Linked DNA regions of Homo sapiens: region 1 is linked to region 2. The links are contacts of gene promoters, found by promoter capture Hi-C in human tissues and cell types (Jung and others, 2019). All regions are on one chromosome and are shown on one strand. Each heading gives the region's core, a stretch centred on a gene start or on the middle of the fragment in contact. The rest is flanking DNA. Distances are from core to core; before and after follow the strand shown. Region 1 overlaps CKM (creatine kinase, M-type). Region 2 holds the start of PPP1R37 (protein phosphatase 1 regulatory subunit 37).

Evidence for each region. The method cuts DNA at HindIII sites, captures the fragments that hold promoters and counts their contacts. A contact is called where the count stands out against the background at its distance.
Region 1: a contact is called between a fragment that was not itself captured here and the fragment with the promoter of PPP1R37 in region 2, in 1 of the 25 tissues and cell types used here (adrenal gland).

What each region holds. Positions count from the first base shown.
Region 1 is chr19:45,307,828-45,310,872 of GRCh38, reverse strand. CKM (creatine kinase, M-type) reads left to right here. Exons shown (of 8, transcript NM_001824.5): 6 at 2,341-2,464. Among named protein-coding and RNA genes, the nearest start is that of CKM, 14 kb to the left of the region's middle. RefSeq lists a silencer at 2,186-2,343. The HindIII fragment of the contact is 3,883 bases long and covers 1-3,045 here.
Region 2 is chr19:45,091,927-45,094,918 of GRCh38, reverse strand. It overlaps PPP1R37 (protein phosphatase 1 regulatory subunit 37), which reads right to left and starts at 1,740. Exons shown (of 13, transcript NM_019121.2): 1 at 1,392-1,740. The coding sequence starts at 1,593. RefSeq lists a silencer at 1,458-1,667 and an enhancer at 2,088-2,137. The HindIII fragment of the contact is 15,616 bases long and covers 1-2,992 here.

The DNA.
Region 1 (3,045 bases), core at 379-2,878, 220 kb before region 2:
CCTGAACCCAAGAGGCGGAGCTTGCAGTGAGCTGAGATCGTGCCACTGCACTCCAGCCTGGGCGACAGGAGACTCCGTCTCAAAAAAAAAAAAAAAAAAAAAAAAAAAAAAAAGCCAGGCGTGATGGCGTATACCTGTGGTCCCAGCTACTCGAGAGGCTGAGGATCAGCTGGGCCCAGAGGATTGAGGTTACTGTGAATCATGACCGAGGTACTGCACTCCAGCTACCTGTCTCAAAAATAAGAACTCAGACTTGAACCGTACTCCCTAGGTTCAAATCCCAGCTCTACCATTTACTAACTTTACTAGCTTTGTGACCTTGGGCAACTTATTTTATTTTTCTCTACCCCAGTTTCCTAGCTATAGGATAGGGATCACAATAATTTGTAGTTTCTGGTGTTCTTGTGAGGATTAAATGAGTTAATTTATGTAAAGTATTAAAAGCAGTGCCTGGGCCAGGCGCGGTGGCTCACGCCTGTAATCCCAGCACTTTGGGAGGCCAAGGCGGGCGGATCACGAGGTCAGGAGATCGAGACCATCCTGGCTAACATGGTGAAACCCCGTCTCTACTAAAAATACAAAAAATTAGCTGGGCTTGGTGGCAGGCGCCTGTAGTCCTACTTACTCGTGAGGCTGAGGCAGGAGAATGGCGTGAACCCGGGAGGCGGAGCTTGAAGTGAGCCAAGATCGCATCACTGCACTCCAGCCTGGGCGACAGACCAAGACTCTGTCTCAAAAAAAAAAAAAAAAAAAAAAGCAGTGCCTGGTATACACTAAGTGTTCAGTACATCTTGGTTATTCGTCTTATCTTTATTATAAAGTATTATTGCTAGACTTGTTTTGACTCTTTGAATCCCTGATTCAGATAGTCAAAGATTTAGAGAACCTAGGTTTCAATCGATGAAGGGAGCCTGGGTGCTAAGATATACAGATGGGATGATTCTAAGATTTCAAGATTTTAAATATTTTTAGGTTTTAAGATTCCACTCATTTATTTATTTATTTATTTTGAGATGGACTCTCACTCTGAGGCCCAGGCTGGAGTGCAGTGGGTTGATCTCGACTCACTGAAACCTCCATCTCCCGGGTTCAAACGATCCTCTCACCCTCCGCCTCCTTAGTAGCTAGGACGACAGGCATGTGCCACTGTGCCCAGCTAGTTTTCGTATTTTTGGTAGAGACAGCGTTCTGCCATGTTGCTCAGGCTGGTCTCGAACTCTTCACCTTAAGTGATCCGCCCACCTCAGCCTCCCAAAGTGCTGGGATTACAAGCGTGAGCCACCATGCCTGCCCTCAGGTTTTTTTTTTTTTTTTTTTGAGACAGGGTCTTGCTCTGTTGCCCAGGCTGGAGTGCAGTGGTGGGATCATAGCTCGCTGCAGCCTGGACCTTCCAAGGTCAAGTGATCCTCCCGCCTCAGCCTCCCCAGTGGCTTGGACTACAGGCATGTGTCCCACCATGCCTGCTAATTTTTTAAATTTTGTAGATATGTGGGTCTTGCCATGTTGCCCAGGGTAGTCTTGAACTCCTGGGCTCAAGCAATCCTCCGGCCTTGGCCTCCCAAAGTGCTGGGATTACAGGCATGAGCCACCACACCCGGCCATTTCCGGATCTTAATATTTTATGTTCTTTTTTTTTTTTTTTTTTGAGATGGAGTCTCGCTCTGTTGCCCAGGCTGGAGTGCAGTGGCGCGATCTCGACTCACTGCAAGCTCCACCTCCCGGGTTCTCGCCATTCTCTTGCCTCAGCCTCCTGAGTAGCTGGGACTACAGATGCCCGCCACCATGCCCAGATTTTTTTTTGTATTTTTTAGTAGAGACAGGGTTTCGACGTGTTAGCCAGGATGGTGTCGATCTCCTGACCTTGTGATCCGCCCGCCTCGGCCTCCCAAAGTGCTGGGATTACAGGCGTGAGCCACCGCACCCAGCCTTAATATTTTATGTTCTAAGATCCTGCTTCTGAGATGCTAGGATTGGGAGCTAACACACTACGATGGGAAGATTTTCTGGTCCTGAAACCAGATGTAGGATTACCAAGTGTTATCAGTTCTGATCCCAAGCTTCTGTTTGTCAAACATCCTGAGATCCCAAGGATCTATAATAATACTGTTCAAAGACTTAAGTCCCTAAAAGTCCTTGATCCCAGGATTCAGCGTTTTGCAGATCCTGTGACATTAGAGTCTACAGGTTTAAGCTTCTGCGTTTTGAGGAGGCAGATGCCACCCACCTCCCACCCCTCAGGCCCTCTTCCCCCATCGGTGGGCAGATGTTTTGGGGGAGGGCTGGGAATGGGGTTCCCACGGGGCTGACACCTTGGCCTCTTGCTGCGGCACCTTACTCTAGGCACAATGACAACAAGAGCTTCCTGGTGTGGGTGAACGAGGAGGATCACCTCCGGGTCATCTCCATGGAGAAGGGGGGCAACATGAAGGAGGTTTTCCGCCGCTTCTGCGTAGGGCTGCAGAAGGTGGGTGTCTGCCCTTAGCTGCTGACTTCTGACTCCACCTTGAACGCCCCACCTGCTTTCCGAGGCCCCGCCCCTTCCCCTATACTAAGCCCTGCCCCACCCATTTTCCAGGGCCCTGCCCCCCGGACCTGGCTCCACCCCATGCCAAACCCCGCCCCCCAAAACTAGCCCCACCCGCTTTTCAGGGCCCCGCCCCTGGACCCAGCTCCACCCTATGCCCAAGCCCCGCCCGTAAGGATCCGCCTTCAGGCCGGGAGCGGTGGCTCACGCCTGTAATCCCAGCACTTTGGGAGGCTGAGGAGGGTCAGGAGTTCAAGACCAGCCTGGCCAACATGGTGAAACCCCGTCTCTATACTAAAAAATTAATAAATAAATAAATTATCCAGGCGTAGTGGCGCGCGCCTGTAGTCCCAGCTACTCGGGAGGCTGAGGCAGGAGAATCGCTTGAACCTGGGAGGCAGAGGTTGCAGTGAGACGAGATCACGCCATTGCACTCCAGCCTGGGTGACACAGAGAGACTCTGGAAAAAAAAAAAAAAAAAACCCGCCTTCAAAGCGTTCTTAGTCCCCGCCCCTCAAAAT
Region 2 (2,992 bases), core at 491-2,990:
CCACTTTCCCAGCCCTATGGCTCCAACACACTCCTTTCAGCTCCAACACTGACCTGACCCTCTCCAGTGCGCTGGCCCTCTCTCCCAACACTTCAAGTAGCCAACTTTTTCATCTCTCTCACCTGCTACTGGCCAGCAACTCCAATTTCTGACTTGATAACATCCCCCAATTCTTTTTTTTTTTTTCTTTGAGCCGGAGTTTTGCTCTTGTCACCCAGGCTGGAGTACAATGTCGTGATCTTAGCTCACTGCAACCTCCACCTCCCGGGTTCAAACGATTCTCCCTGCCTCAGCCTCTTGAGTAGATGGGATTACAGGTGTGCACCACTATGCCCGGCCAATTTCTGTATTTTTAGTAGAGACGGGGTTTCCCCATGTTGGCCAGGCTGGTTTTAAACTCCTGACCTCAGGTGATCCACCCACCTTGGCCTCCCAAAGTGCTGGGATTACACGCCTGAGCCAATGCACCCGGCCATCCCCCAATTCTTTCTCAGGAAGGAACAAGAGGACCCTTCCGTAGCCATGTCCCAAACATCCTCTGCTCCTGAATGACTGACAGCCTTCCTTCTGCTTCTCTTTTTTTTGGAGGAGGAGGCGGCGGTAGGCGTTGGCTTTTCTTCTTAATACCACATTGCAGCAGGCGGCGGTGGCTCACACCTGTAATCCCAACACTCTGGGAGGCCAAGGAGGGAGGACAGCTTGAACCCAGAAGTCCGAGACCAGCCTGGGCAATGTAGTGAGACCTTGTCTCAATAAAAAAGAAAACATAAAAACCACACTGCCTCTTTCTCCCTCACCCAACCACAAATTGACCACCACCTCTGCTCCTCTTCTGGGACCTTATCTTGACTCCTTTTTACCAAGTCCTCTATAGCCACAGTCCAAGTTTATAGTCTCCCTCTTTCCAGCCAAGAAAGTGGCCAACACGACCACTCCTTGCCCCAAGGCTTGCAGACCAGCAACTTAACCTCTTTTTACCCCCATAGACCCATCAAACTCTTTCAACTGCCCTTTCAGGCCCAGTGTTGACCCGCTCCTCCTCTCAACTGCTCCTTCTCTCCTTCTCTGGTGGAACTACGAACGCAAAGGCTGCCACACTCTACATCTGACAAAACACCAAACTTTCTTTAATTGCTCATCGTTTTAAACCCTAAAACGATCACCATCTTTGTCTCGGGTGGGTGGGGTGCGGCAGAAACCAGATACTTTTCACCTTCCCAACTCCATAGCCACCCCCTTTCTAACAGACTACGGTTCTAAACTGACGACTGTCCCCTTATTCACCATTAGGTGCAATCTATTGAACGCCACCTCGAGCCGGGCCCTGCACCGATCCCTCCCGACTCCCGGGTCCCTCTCGAGCCCGCCCCCGCTTCACCCGCGGTAGCTACCATGTCTCCAGGGGTCTTTGGGCTCCACTGCTCCAGACACGATATCCTCGTCGGACGGGAATGTGACGCGCTTGGCTGCAGCCTTGAGGCGCCCATCGGCGGGGGGCGACGCGGGGCTGGGAGACCCGGCCTCAGCTGGGGCCTCTTCAATGTCGCCGTCCGCGCCCGGCACGGGCGGCGCCTCCTGCGGCGCGATCTCCATAGCCGCCGCCGCCTCCTCACGGGGGCCCCGGGGACATGCCCCGGGCCCCGGATTTGTCTCTCCGGGTCCGCCCGCCGTCCCGGGGCATGGGCTCCGCCGCCGCTTCAGGCGCCGCCTCCGTCCGCTCTCCTAGTGGTCGTAGTCGTCGCCGCCGGGAGCCCAAGCGCGCCTCCGCCGAGCCCCGCGCGCGCCTGCCCGTTCGCAGTCACACTTTCGCTCGAGGCTGGCGAGCCCGCCGCTTACTATAAGAAGCAGAAAATCGATTTCAGCGACTTGCACGTAGAGTTGTCCCGCGGGTGACATGAAGAGAGAAACAAAGGGCAGGAAGGGCCACGGAAAAAAGAAACGTGAGCAGCGAATCTGCAGAGCCGGAACTGCAGACTATGAGGGGCGGGGCGAAGTAGACGCCGTCTCCAAGAGCAGCGCGCAAGCGCGAAGCTGAGCCCACGCCTTCCTGCCGGAGTCCAAATAACGAATATTCAGCTCCCGCACATTCGTCAAGAGCCCAGGGAATGGAGTGCATAGAACTGAAAACACCTGGCGGGGCGCGGCGGCACACGCCTATAATCCCAGCACTTTGGAAGGCTGAGGCGGGAAGATCGCTTGAGTCCAGGAGTTCGAGACCAGCCTGGGCAACATAGCAAGGCCCCGTCTTTACAAAAAATTTAAAAATTAGCAGGGTCTGGTTACAGGAGCCTGTAGTTCCAGCTACTTGGGAGGTGGGAAGATCGCTTGAGCCCGGTAGGTTGAGGCTGCACTGAGCTATGATCGCGCCCCTGCACTCCGACCTGGTAGACAGAGCCAGACCCTGTCTCAACGAAAGGAAAGAAATGGGCCGGGCGCGGTGGCTCACGCCTGTAATCCCAGCACTTTGGAAGGCCGACACGGGCGGATCACGAGGTTAGGAGATCGAGACCATCCTGGCTAACACGGTGAAACCCCGTCTCTACTAAAAATACAAAAAATTAGCCGGGCGTGGTGGCGGGCGCCTGTAGTCCCAGCTACTCGGGAGCCTGAGGCACGAGAATGGTGTGAACCCGGGAGGCGGAGCTTTTAGTGAGCCGAGATCGTGCCACTGCACTCCAGCCTGGGCGACAGAGCAAGACTCCGTTCCCCCCCCCCCAAAAAAAACAAAGGAAATAAATGAAAACATTGAGGCTAGACTAACTGATGAAGAGTGGTAACGGCATGAAGAAGTCGAAAAGAAAGGCGGATAGGAGCTGCATTCAATATATGAGTGCAGTTGATGGATGCTGACAGGGATACTCTGGAGACGAAGTCTCGGCCCCTTCGCTAGTCTCTAGTCCTCCATTTGCTCGCTGCAGTTACATCAACAGCTCTCTGTATCGGGGTAGAGTTGCATAAAATACAACTTAAATTACAATGCTAAAATAAATAT